3 separate regions of the Homo sapiens genome follow, and regions 1 and 2 are each linked to region 3. The links are contacts of gene promoters, found by promoter capture Hi-C in blood cells and fetal thymus (Javierre and others, 2016). All regions are on one chromosome and are shown on one strand. The core of a region is centred on a gene start or on the middle of the fragment in contact, and the rest is flanking DNA. Distances in the headings are between cores, read along the strand shown. Region 1 overlaps SDHC (succinate dehydrogenase complex subunit C). Region 2 overlaps SDHC (succinate dehydrogenase complex subunit C). Region 3 holds the start of PCP4L1 (Purkinje cell protein 4 like 1).

The links. Contacts are between HindIII fragments. The CHiCAGO score rates a contact against its expected background, and 5 or more counts as called.
Region 1: a contact is called between a fragment that was not itself captured here and the fragment with the promoter of PCP4L1 in region 3, in 6 of 17 cell types (M0 macrophages, megakaryocytes, M1 macrophages and 3 more). The highest score is 6.8, in M0 macrophages.
Region 2: a fragment that was not itself captured here is called in contact with the fragment with the promoter of PCP4L1 in region 3 in 5 of 17 cell types (M1 macrophages, M2 macrophages, erythroblasts and 2 more); the score reaches 6.9 in M1 macrophages.

Annotation. Positions count from the first base shown.
Region 1 is chr1:161,359,567-161,364,376 of GRCh38, forward strand. It overlaps SDHC (succinate dehydrogenase complex subunit C), which reads left to right. Exons shown (of 6, transcript NM_003001.5): 6 at 2,763-3,640. The coding sequence ends at 2,867. Among named protein-coding and RNA genes, the nearest start is that of CFAP126, 5.9 kb to the right of the region's middle. The HindIII fragment of the contact is 1,452 bases long and covers 2,479-3,930 here.
Region 2 is chr1:161,337,321-161,341,772 of GRCh38, forward strand. It overlaps SDHC (succinate dehydrogenase complex subunit C), which reads left to right. Exons shown (of 6, transcript NM_003001.5): 4 at 3,274-3,335. Among named protein-coding and RNA genes, the nearest start is that of SDHC, 25 kb to the left of the region's middle. The HindIII fragment of the contact is 9,839 bases long and covers 1-4,452 here.
Region 3 is chr1:161,257,136-161,260,906 of GRCh38, forward strand. It overlaps PCP4L1 (Purkinje cell protein 4 like 1), which reads left to right and starts at 1,610. Exons shown (of 3, transcript NM_001102566.2): 1 at 1,610-1,848. The coding sequence starts at 1,840. RefSeq lists an enhancer at 1,978-2,478. The HindIII fragment of the contact is 2,153 bases long and covers 520-2,672 here.

The sequences.
Region 1 (4,810 bases), core at 1,955-4,454, 100 kb after region 3:
GTCTCAATATGGGGGTAAGAGAGGGGAGGTTTTATAAAATTGCAGAACTTAGAGCTTTTCTGCCCTGGTTCTTGCCTGTGATGGTAATCTTTTTGTTGAGGGAAGTGAAGAACCTAAGGGTCCTTAAGTCTGCTTTTATTTTTTCTTCTAGCAAGTACTGGCTGTGAGTGTGGGACAGGATTTTGTGTTTTCTGTGACAGTCTGCAGTTTTTGGCCTCTGAACTTGATAGTTGACTTGCCAGAAGATCTAATGGGGGAGTGAGGAGTGAAAGAGTAGGATGTTATAGGGTCTGTGGCATTCTAGGGAATATCCCTGCCTACTACTGCTACCCAGTAGGACTCACTCTCTATAAAACATTGTCCTTATTTAAGCAAAACAACTCTTTGTGGAATCTGCTTGACTCCTAATCTCCTAGTTAGAAGCAATTTGAGGGTTGAGGTGGAGGCATCTTCTCATCTTGATTTTTTTTTTTTTTTCTGGGCTTCCATCTTTTCTCTGAACTGACTCCTAATTTAGGCAGTTTTACATTCAGACTGTGGGTGTATGTGTGTATGTGTGTGTTAAGGCGCCATGTATGTGGGAAGTGTGGAAAATGAAGACTGCTTTTGCCCCATGGGCTCATTTAGTGACTTATAATATAATATTAATATGTTAATATCCCTAAGACACAAGAGAGTCAAAATTAGTGTTTTGTTAAATGTGGGGCTGGGGGCATGGTAGCTCATGTCTGTAACCCTAGCACTTTGGGAGGCCAAGGCAGGTGAATTGCTTGAGCTCAGGAGTTCAAAACTAGCCTGGGCAACGTGGCAAAACTTCATCTCTACCAAAAATACAAAAAATTAGCTGGGCATGGTGATGGGTGCCTGTAGTCCCAGCTACTTGGGAGGCTGAGGCAGGAGGATTGCTTGAACCTGGGAGGTCAAGGCCTCAGTGAGCTGAGATTGTGCCACTGCACTCCAGCCTAGGTGACAAAGTGAGACCCTGTCTCAAAAAATTAAAAAAAAAAAAGTGGGGGTGGGTGGTGGGGTAGGGGCTGGGTGAGATGGCTCACACCTGTAATCTCAGCACTTTGGGAGGCTGAGGCGGGAGGATTGCTTGAGCCCAGGAGTTCAATACTAGCCTGGGCAAGACATAACAAGAGTCTATCTCTATTTTTTAGTATTAAAAAGAAAAGTGGGTTTTAACTCAATTGGTAGAAAACCAATTTAGTGGCATGCTACCAACAAAAAAAGAAATTTAAATAGAATAGAAAATATAGGCTGGGGCTGGGCGTGGTGGCTCATGCCTGTAATCCCAGCACTTTGGGAGGCTGAGGAGGGTGTATCACTTGAGGTCAAGAGTTTGAGACCATCCTGGCCAACATGGTGAAACCCCATCTCTACTAAAAATACAAAAATTAGCTTGGCATGGTGGCATGCGCCTGTAGTCCCAGCCACTGGCAGGGCTGAGGCAAGAGAATCGCTTGAACCTGGGAGGCTGACGTTGCTGTGAGCCAAGATGGCGCCACTGGAGTGGCTGGGTGCAGAAGTTCACGCCCGTAATGCCAGCTTTTAGGGAAGCAGAGGCAGGAGGATAGCTTGAGTCCAGGAGTTCAAGACCTGCCTGAACAATATAATGAGACCCCGTTCTCCACAAAAAGGAGAAAATATATGTTTTTTAATGAAGTTTATTTATATATAAAATATATAAATATATACTTGTATATATATGGCACCACTTAGTAATGGTAAATATTGTTTTATCAACTTTTGCTATATTATATATACATATCTATTGGGTTCCAGTTTTAAAGGTATTTCTTAGTGGAGTCACAGTCAAAACAAAATTGAGAAATAGTGTTCTAGATCTCAGAGTATCCTTTAGAATACTAGTCCTCTGATAAATAGAGTTTCCCTCTATAAAAAGATTCTGAGATTGACTGTATCTAGGAAATCAGGCATATTATATCTCTCTTTTGGAGATTCACAGTGTGCATTAGTAAACTGTAAGAGGCTGGGCGCAGTGGCTCACGCCTGTAATCCCAGCATTCTGGGAGGACAAGGCGGGCAGATCACGAGATCAGGAGATCAAGACCATCCTGGCTAACTCGATGAAACCCCATCTCTACTAAAAATACAAAAACAAAATTAGCCAGGCGTGGTGGCGTGTGCCTCTAGTCCCAGCTACTTGGGAGGCTGAGGCAAGAGAATGGCATGAACCTGGGAGGTGGAGCTTGCAGTGAGCTGAGATCATGCCACTGCACTCCAGCCTGGGCGACAGAGTGAGAGTCCGTCTCAAAAAAAAAAAAAAAAAAAAAACTGTTTAGAAAGTCTTGCAGTTAAATGTTTATGAACTTTGTATGACCACAGAACTTTTTTTTTTTTGGCCCATACAATGGCTTTCAACATTCTGAGAGCAAGTGTTTGGAAGAATACACCTTGAGAAACATTAATCTAGATGTGTGGTCCTGAGGAAAAGTTGTATCTATTCATTCTGGAAGCTTTTGTATACCGTATGGGGCCTGTGGCATTCTAGAGAACATTCCTCCTACCATCACCACACAATAGAACCTGATTTTCTGTCATTGGAATAAGTGGATAATAGGTTCCATACTGTGGGTTTTGAGAAGGGTAAAGGTGGGGCATAAGGGTAGAAGCGCTTTTCTCTAGAATCATGCTGAGAGGAGATATCTATTCCTTTAGGTAGAATTACTTTCTGAGACAGGAACTGTTAATGTCCTATTTACTGAAATTCCTTTTTTTTTTTTTTGCTTTGTCCACAGATGTGGGACCTAGGAAAAGGCCTGAAGATTCCCCAGCTATACCAGTCTGGAGTGGTTGTCCTGGTTCTTACTGTGTTGTCCTCTATGGGGCTGGCAGCCATGTGAAGAAAGGAGGCTCCCAGCATCATCTTCCTACACATTATTACATTCACCCATCTTTCTGTTTGTCATTCTTATCTCCAGCCTGGGAAAAGTTCTCCTTATTTGTTTAGATCCTTTTGTATTTTCAGATCTCCTTGGAGCAGTAGAGTACCTGGTAGACCATAATAGTGGAAAAGGGTCTAGTTTTCCCCTTGTTTCTAAAGATGAGGTGGCTGCAAAAACTCCCCTTTTTTGCCCACAGCTTGCCTACTCTCGGCCTAGAAGCAGTTATTCTCTCTCCATATTGGGCTTTGATTTGTGCTGAGGGTCAGCTTTTGGCTCCTTCTTCCTGAGACAGTGGAAACAATGCCAGCTCTGTGGCTTCTGCCCTGGGGATGGGCCGGGTTGGGGGGTGGGTTGGTGAGGCTTTGGGTGCCACTGCCTGTGGGTTGCTGGCTTAAAGGACAATTCTCTTCATTGGTGAGAGCCCAGGCCATTAACACCTACACAGTGTTATTGAAAGAAGAGAGGTGGGGGTGGAGGGGAATTAGTCTGTCCCAGCTAGAGGGAGATAAAGAGGGCTAGTTAGTTCTTGGAGCAGCTGCTTTTGAGGAGAAAATATATAGCTTTGGACACGAGGAAGATCTAGAAAATTATCATTGAACATATTAATGGTTATTTCTTTTTCTTGGATTTCCAGAAAAGCCTCTTAATTTTATGCTTTCTCATCGAAGTAATGTACCCTTTTTTTCTGAAACTGAATTAAATACTCATTTTATCTTTGACTCTCCTTGAAATCTAGAGAAACCAAGAAAATGGCTGTTGGGAAGGAACCAATTTCCTCCTCTTCCCTCGGGTCTCAGGCATTTACATCCTCCCTCTCCCCGCAATCTGACCTTTACCAGGAGGGAAACAGTTCTCCTACATCTCATCATTGGAAAAGTTTTCAGGGAATCAGATAGAACTTAGCCAGAGATTTAAATATCACAGAAAAGCCTCAGAGAAGGAAGGAGAAAAAGAAAAGAAGTGACGCATGTAGAGTGCTTTTGGGTTATAGGCACCAAAATCCCATTAAGGACTGATTATAAGCTTCATGGTACAGTTCAGCAAATTATGATTCATTGAGGGGCACAGAGGACCAGTGTTGGTGACAGCTAGGGGATGATGACCTGAGGTTATAGGCTTGGGGTGAATGAAGCATAGAGTTTTTTTTTAAAAAAGAAGGGATTGTTGAAAACCTGGCAAAAATGTATAATTTAATGAGAAAACTTGCTGCTTTTAAAATCCATATAGGCCAGGCTTTAGCAGGCATGCTGTTTTGATAGTTTTTGGGAACTCTGGAATAAGAGACTTATCTCATCTGTCACTTCGAGTTGTTGGCCAGCCAGTTAAAGCTGTGGGTCGAAGAGGGGAAATGTTAACTGGCTGGTGTCAATTGGATAGGAAGACCTTAGTTAAGGTGGGGACCCGCTGTTTTAACAGTCTTCATTCAGGGTCCCAAATAGTATTTGGCTTTAAGTAATGATTGGTTTTCCCTTTTTACTAGAGGGGCCCTGGGAAGTCCTTGTACCTTTCCTCCATTTTAAACCAGCTGTTCTCTACTTTGTCCTTGGAATGAGGGACAAGTGATCATGACAGAACACTTTGTCATTGGGACTGGGAAAGGTTTGGCAAGGGCATTAAATTTAACAGCCAGTGCCAGGAAAATATAAAATGGGGTCAATGATAAACAGCTGTTAGAGGCTGGAAAATGGGTAGGGCAGTTGAATTTTTTGGTGGTTTCGTACCATTTGGGTGATTGAAGCATGGTAGTGGGTGGGTGGGGGGTGTGACAGAGCATCATGTTTGTTATTCTGCCTTAAATTTCTACTTACTGTCTTTTTCTTCTCTGTCTTCCAATCACTTTAATATCTTCAATTTTCAAACTATATTTGTACTTGGGCTTAGATAGAAAGTCTTACACAAGC
Region 2 (4,452 bases), core at 1,868-4,367, 82 kb after region 3:
CACTCACATGTCTTGGAGTTGATTCTGGCTCTTGGATGGGGCCCTTATTTTCTCACCACATAGGTCCTTTCACATGTCTTTGTAGGCTGCTTTGGGTTTCCACACAGCATGAGGAAGGAAGGAGAATTCGTAAGTCATGCAGCATTACTTCTGCCGCATTCTACCTTTTGAGGCCGTCGGTCATCAAGTCCTGCCCAGGTTCAAGGGTAGAGGCTAAATACTTGCTTGATGAGAAATGACAAGATTCTGGAAGATCCTGGGGGACTGGAAATAATATTATGGTTATTTTTAGAAAACAATATTTTTACCTTGTCATTACTGGGCTAGCCAGGCTATGATTTTAACCGTTTTTGAAAAATAGGGTAACATTTGAATTCAGCAGTTTCATATTACATCACTCCCATTTTGTATATCAGTATTTCTGAAAGATTTCTGGAACAGTGCATATGTTTCTTCTATTAGCTCTTTCAGTCATGGGATTTGATTCATCTGGTCCCAGAGCCCCAAGTGTGTTTGGAATCTTCCAATTTCCTCACCTCTTTAGGGTTTCAAGTCTTTCAGATCAATATTTGTTCTGTCTTTTTCATGCTGATAATTATTCTCTTTGACAAGAAAAATAATTGTGCAATCTGTTTCACACTCTTGTCATCAATTAGCATAAAATTGTTCATCCCAGTTAGGAGGCTGACTGTGTCAGAATACAATTTTAAAACCTCTTTTTTGTTGTCCTTGAAATTGTTGCAAGCCTCAGCTCCTTCTGGGTTTCGGTCTCCTGATTCTTCTTACCAAATTATGCTATCGTTCTCTGTCCTTGGTTATGTGTCTGTTCTTCCACCTTTTATATTTCTGTTGTTAAATCTGAGTTGATCAGAGTGGTATGTGGCTCTTCTTCCACCTTTTATATTTCTCTTGTTAAATCTGAGTTGATCAGAGTGGTATCTAGTTAGTATTAATATTTTTAATTTATTTGGGAATACTCCTTTCTTACTTACTATGACCATTTTCATTATGTAGGCAGAATTTTCTTTTGAGATCTTTTTAACCTCTTTATTTCTCTTCAAAGTGTTGAAGATACGGTTTGATTATGCTTAGTATTCTTTGTCTAAGCTAACATTCCAAGATGAGCGTTAGCTTTCTTCAGAGACTCTTGTTCTTTCCATTTTACCCACCAGTTCTCTCTTGAGCATGAGAACTAGGTCTAGAATAACAATGTTGGTTGTCCTTCAATGGAAAGTTGATGATTCATAATTTAAAAAGGGGTTTGATGATGAAAAGTATTTCAGAACTACTGTGGATTAAGAAATATATACTAAATCCAGAAGATTGGATATAAAAATTTGGGATAGGTAACTTATTAGGAAATAAGTGGTATGTTCAGTTTGGATATTTTGGGGCATATAATAAGGGAGGATTCAAGGATGACCATGTATTATATGAAACTGTGGATAAATGAAACTCAGGTTTTCTTCCATCAGTGTTATACCTGGAGAAATAGAGGGACCCAGGTTGTATTACAGTGATTGCTTTCTTTCTTTTTCTTTTTTTTGAGATGGAGTCACCCTCTGTCGCCCAGACTGGAGTGCAGTGGCGTGATCTCCATTTACGCCAAACTCCGCCCCCCGGATTCAAGTCATTCTCCTGCCTCAGCCTCCCAAGTAGCTGGGATTACAGGCATGCACCACCACGCCTGGCTAAATTTTTGTATTTTTAGTAGAGATGGGGTTTCACCGTGTTGGCCAGCCTGGTCTCGAACACCTGACCTCATGATCCACCCGCCTCAGCCTCTTAAAGTGCTGGGATTACAGGCGTGAGCCACCGTGCCCGGCCTATAGTGATTACTTTCTAATTGTATCAACTGTATTTATTTATTTAGAGGCATGGTCTCTGTCTCTCTCTCCCCAACCCGGGCTGGAGTACAGTGGCACAGTCATAGCTCACTGCAGTCTGGAGTTCCTGGCCTCAAGCGACCCTCTCACTTCAGTCTCCCAAGTAGCTGGGACCACAGGCCTCTGCCACCACACCCAGCTAATTTTTTTTTTTTTTTTCGTAAAGATGGGGTCTCATTACGTTGCCTAGGTTGACCTTGAACTCCTGAACTCAACGGCCCCCGCCTTGGCCTCCCAAAGTACTAGGATTACAGGTGTGAGCCACCATGCCAGCTCCAACTTTAATGAGTGTCTTTGACCCATGTTTCTCCTTGCGAAAGGAGTTTTGAGTTATAATCATTTTTTTTTTTCTCAGCCCTATCAGTGATGCAGTCTGGTAAAGGTAGGGATCCTTCTCCATAAATCAGTTTTCTTTATTCTTTAATTTATTTTTGTAACCTAATCCTGATACAGGTGTTTTTTTTTTTTTTTTTTTTTTTTTTTTGGAGACAGAGTTTCACTCTTGTTGCCCAGACTGGAGCTGGAGTGCAATGGTGCGATCTTGGCTCACCGCAACCTCCACCTCCTGGGTTCAAGCAATTTTCCTGCCTCAGCCTCCCGAGTAACTGAGATTACAGGCATGTGCCACCACATCCGGCTAATTTTGTATTTTCAGTAGAGACGGGGTTTCTCCATGTTGGTCAGGCTGATTGCGAACTCCTGACCTCAGGTGATCCACCTGCCTTGGCCTCCCAAAGTGCTGGGATTACAGGCGTGAGGCACCGCGCCTGGCCCAGGTTTGTATTTTTAAAGTAAAAAGTGGAAACACGGCTGGGCACAGTGGCTCACACCTGTAATTCCAGTACTTTGGGAGGCCGAGGTGGGCGGATCATGAGATCAGATCAAGACCAGCCTGGCTAAGGTGATGAAACCCCTTTACTAAAAATACAAAAATTAGGCGGACCTGGTGGCAGGCACCTGTAATCCCAGCTACTCAGGAGGCTGAGGCAGGAGAATCTCATGAACCCGGGAGGCAGAGGTTGGAGTGAGCTGAGACTGTGGCATGGGACTCCAGCCTGGGTGACAGAGCAAGACCCTGTTCCGGGGGGGTAAAAAAAAAAGTGAAAAGACAGGAATGCAAAAGCTGGTGATTTTTTGTTTTGTTTTGTTTTGTTTTAAGAAAATATTACCTATTCAGGAGAATTGCTTGGACCCGGGAAGTGGAGGTTGCAGTGAGCTGAGATCATGCCATTGCCAGCCTGGGCAACAGAGCGAGACTCTGTCTCAAAAAAAAAAAAAGAAAAAAAAGTGCCTATTTCAGAATTAGTTTATATTTTTGCCAAGATAGACTCTCTACTATGGTGTCATCTTTTCCTTTTTAAAATTGTCTTTGTGTGTTTCTTTACAGTTGGTCTCTTCCCATGGCGATGTCCATCTGCCACCGTGGCACTGGTATTGCTTTGAGTGCAGGTATGTATATGTGTTTTTACACACACATATGTGCTTCTTTGAAAAACTTGGCTGTTTCATTGGCCCTAGTCTCCGCCTCCTTTGAAACTCAGCACTTGATTTAGAGGGAACAGTAAGTCTCTTAAGTTTATTGTTCATTCATCCCTTTAACAATTAATTATGAGTTTGCACTGTGCTCAGATTCTTTTCTTCTTTTTTTTCTTTTTGAGACAGAGTCTTGCTCTTTTGCCCAGGCTGGAGTGCAGTGGCGCGATCTCGGCTCACTGCAACCTCCGCCTGCTGGGTTCCAGCGATTCTCCTGCCTCAGCCTCCTGAGTAGCTGGGATTACAGGCATGTGCCACCACGCCTGGCTAAATTTTTGTATTTTTAGTAGAGACGGGGTTTCACCATGTTAGCCAGGATGGTCTTGATCTGACCTCATGATCCGCCTGCCTCAGCCTTCCAAAGTGCTGGGATTACAGACATGAGCCACTGTGCCTGGCCCAGATTAGTTTCTTAGCAAATTTTTAAACCATTCCCTAGCACTTCCTGATATCATGTTTATTGAAATTATAGAGAGCAGAGAAATGTAATAGAGATGGGCTGGCTGACTGATCATTGATGAAACACAGTCCAACCTTATTTTTCCAGAAGCTCAGTTTTAGCACCCATTCTTATCACCTAGACATGCTCAGTCCCCCAAAGACTAGCTCACTAACCAGTCTCACAAAATCTTGATTTACAGACCAGAATGTCTATTTATTCATTTATATAATATGAACTGCAGCTACAGAGTGAATTATATACTGGTCTTAGATAATTAGTACATCCTTTTTAGGTAGGAAGGTTTATTATATGGAGTGCAGATTATAATCAGTTTTCTGGGATCTGATGTATCTTTTCACAGTAGGGATATACTTTACAAGAGGGTCAGCTAGATTTAAAAATTATGTCTGGCTGGTGCTGGAGACATAGACATTTTTGCTTTTTTATGTATTTATTTTCTCACAAGAATGTGCATGTAACATATTTTTACTTTTTTAGCTTTCCTTTATTTAGCCTTATAGCATACTTTGCTCTCCTACCCCCACCAAAAACAGAAACAAAAACTAGATTATGTTCCCTGGATACATGCTC
Region 3 (3,771 bases), core at 360-2,859:
AGGATCAATGCCATCAAGCTACAGATGGTCTTACAAATGGAACCCCAAACGAGCTCAACTAACAACTTCTACCGAGGACCCCTGGACCAACCCACTGACCCTTTGGCTGGCCTAGAGAGTTTCCCTCTGGAGGATACTACCACTGCAGGGCCCCTTCGCCCCCATCCAGCAGGAAGTAGCTAGAGTGGTCATCGCCCAATTTCCAACAGCAGCTGGGGTGTCCTGTTTAGAGGGGAGATTGAGAGGTGAAGCCAGCTGGACTTCTGGGTCAGGTGGGGACTTGGAGAACTTTTCTGTCTTACAAGAGGATTGTAAAATGTGCCAATTAGCACTCTGTAGCTAGGATTGTAAAACGCACCAATCAGCACTCTGTAGCTAGCTAGAGGTTTGTAAAATGAACCAATCAGCACTCTGTAAAATGGACCAAACAGCAGGACATGGGCGGTGACCCCAGGAAATAAAAGCTGGCCACCCCAGCCAGCAGCAGCAACGTGCTCGGGTCCCCTTCCATGCTGTGGAAGCTTTGTTCTTTCGCTCTTCACAATACATCTTGCTGCTGCTCACTCGCTCACTGACTCACTCTTTGTGTCCGTGCCACCTTTAAGAGCTGTAACACTCACTGCAAAAATTCCCAGCTTCATTCTGGAAGTCAGCGAGACCAAGAACCCACCAGAAGGAACCAACTCCAGACACAGTAGGATTTGATGAATCCTAAAATGTCTTCCAACTCCTGAGATCTATGATCTTCCACATCAAACAGGCACTTCACAATTTCCCTGTTCTTTGCCAAAGAAAGCTGTCCATTTGCTCCAGTCTCTCTCTCATTCTGTCTCTCTCTCTCTTCCCCCAGCCTTCCTCCCTCTCTTGTGCTATTCTCTGGTCCAGGGTTCTGTTCTTTTTTTTTTTTTTTTTTTTGAGACGGAGTCTTTCTCTGTCACCCAGGCTGGAGTGCAGTGGCGCGATCTCGGCTCACTGCAAGCTCCACCTCCCGGGTTCACGCCATTCTCCTGCCTCAATCTCCCGAGTAGCTGGGATTACAGTCGCCTGCCACCACGCTTGGCTAATTTTTTGTATTTTTAGTAGAGACTGGGTTTCACCGTGTTAGCCAGGATGGTCTCGATCTCCTGACCTTGTGATCTGCCCGCCTCGGCCTCCCAAAGTGCTGGAATTACAGGCTTGAGCCACCGCGCCCGACCTCCAGGGTGCTATTCTACTAGGAAATCTTAATCTGCAACATCTCTTGGCTTTACCCCTTTCATTCACTGTTTCCTGTTTTCCGTGTACCCTCTTGATTTCTTTCCAGGCCTTCTCTTTCTCAGACTCACACACTCCTTCCATTCCACTCCCCACCTTGCCTTCTTCGTGTACATCTCCTTTCTCCCTCTCTTTCTTTGCTCCCCCTACTTCATTTTCCGTCCCCGCATCCCCCGATGGTCTCCCCCTCCTTCCCGCTCTCTGTCTTACCCTAGTTTGGAAATGCAGCAGACCTCTAAACCTGCCAGCATTGGATGCAAGAGGCTGTCATTCTACGGTAGGAGGAGCTTCTATTGGTCGGGCTGGAGGCGGGTACCGAGCTGAGTATAAAAGGTGGGGCCGGAGGCGGCGAGCTGAGCGGCTCTGACAGGACGGGTCGCAGGGGGTCGCCTGGCCGGAGCTGGGCTCCGAGAATCCCGGGTGCCAGCACCAGAGCAGCGGCTCTCCGCACTAACTCTCCTCTCCTGGTCAGCTGTAACCCCTGCCGCAGAGCCCGGCAACTTTCAGCTGTCGCCCGCGGAGCCCCGAGGGCCACTCGCCTCACCTGTGCGTGCAGCGCCTCGCGCGCCCTGTCCGGCTGCGGAGATGAGCGAGGTGAGCGGTGCGGCCCCCGGCGCTGTCGGCAGGGCTGCGGCGGGGAGGGTGCTGCGGCTCGGGATCCCAGGGAGGCGAGGGAGAGCGAGGCAGACCGGAGCCGCGAAGAACCCTCCAGGGGCGCCCCACTGCCCTCCTAGGAAAGCTCCCACCTCGGGGCGCTGGGAAACGATTGGAAGACGGGGTGCTTTCAGTCTCCCTACTGTGGACGGCGCTTTTGGGGGTAATTGGAATCGGCTGTAGAGTCCGGAAGCGGGGATGCTGAGCTCTCAGGTGGTAGGTCATCCCCTCTGGATACTGCCCCCTGCATCTGTCTTACTGCCCGAGATTATTCTGGCTCCCCTTACCCCCCTCACTTCGCTTCTGTCCTCTCTCTCCTAGGGATGTAAGGCACTCACATTCCTTCTGTAGCATCTAACAAGAACTCCATCCCTGGCCCCCGGGGAGGGCCACTGTGCCCCTTTTAGAAAGGTGGCATCCTGCCCTCCACTCATTCAGTCAGGAACGTTGGAGGGACGTGTTCCGGTATTTAGAAGCCCCTGCCAGTTGCTGGGGAGATTTCCCCTTCAAGAATAGACCTCCCTCTGCAGTGCTTGTTACAAACTAGGTCTTCCGGCAGGCTCTGTGGTGTTCACCGTGGCCAGACCCAGGCCATTAACTGATTTACTGTTTTCAAAGAACACTGTTCATGGGGTGGGGGAGTGGGGGGTCAAAGCAGAGACTTTGGAAAGACGTCTCCTATTGTCTATTTGTAGGCACAGTCTCATCTCCAGAAACAAGGATCAGCCTTTCCAAGTGAAGTCAGTCTGGTTAGTGGCATCACAAGCTTGCCCTCTGCAACCTCTTTCCTAGTACCCACATCGTTGTGTTAAATCCAACTCCTCTGCTATATGTCAGATATGTATGTAGGCCAGCTACTTACCTGTGATGTAGCCTTAGGCAAAGTACAAAACCTTTGTTTCATTTTTTGTCTGTAAAATGGGGATAATACTGGTTGTTGTAATAATTAAATGAGATAATATATGCCAAATACTTGAAACAGGACCTGGCACTCAATCTATATTAGCTATTATCTTTCTGTTTCTTTTTTCTTCCTCTCCCATTAGAGTATTACAGAAATTTAACAGAAGAATTCCCAAAGACATTAGATTACTGAAGGAATAGGACCCTGGAGCCTGGGTTCCAGTTTAGATACTAAAAATGAAGATCTCTATGACTCCTACCAAAAGTTGTCACCCAGGGAGCTAATTAGTGCCAACTGCTGTGTTGTCTTGGTTGCCGTGTTCACTAATTTTATCCTGGAAAATTCGGCTAGTCTGGGGGCTGCAGATGAACCAAAGTGGTTTCCAGTCCCTCAGCTGGTTGTGACTCTGATGATGGCAATCTTTCAGAAAGAAAAGAAAAAAACGCATCAACCTCCTCTTTCACCTCTAATGTGGGAAGAGAGGTTTTCTTTGCCCCTTTTCACTGAGGTCTAGGGTTCATACTACTCCTCCCACCCCGAGCATTTCTAAATCTGAAAGTTGTAATCCAAGCCATCCCCTGGGAGTTTGTGATCTGAAGGCTATGCCAACGTGAGGATTTGCAGTTAGCCTGTGTTTTCTGGGGTAAGTGCACAGCCCCTTTGTAGGACACACTACAGGGGCTGGCATTTAGAGTGGTATTTGGTGGAATGAGAAGCCTGTTTTGTAGCAAAGGAAACAATTCGGTGTTTGAGGAGAAAGCCAAGTCCGCTCCCTCCTGACTCAGCAGCTGAATTTGGTTAGCCTTCATCAGGGGCTCAGTAGAATGATGAGAGAAGGATCCACGGATGGAGACTATCAGTGTACCCAAGTCTGCCCAGCCTCCTAGGCTATCAGAGCAAACTGGTTTTAACTAGCAATTTAGTCATAGAAGCTGTCTCCTAATACAGAGCTGAGCCTG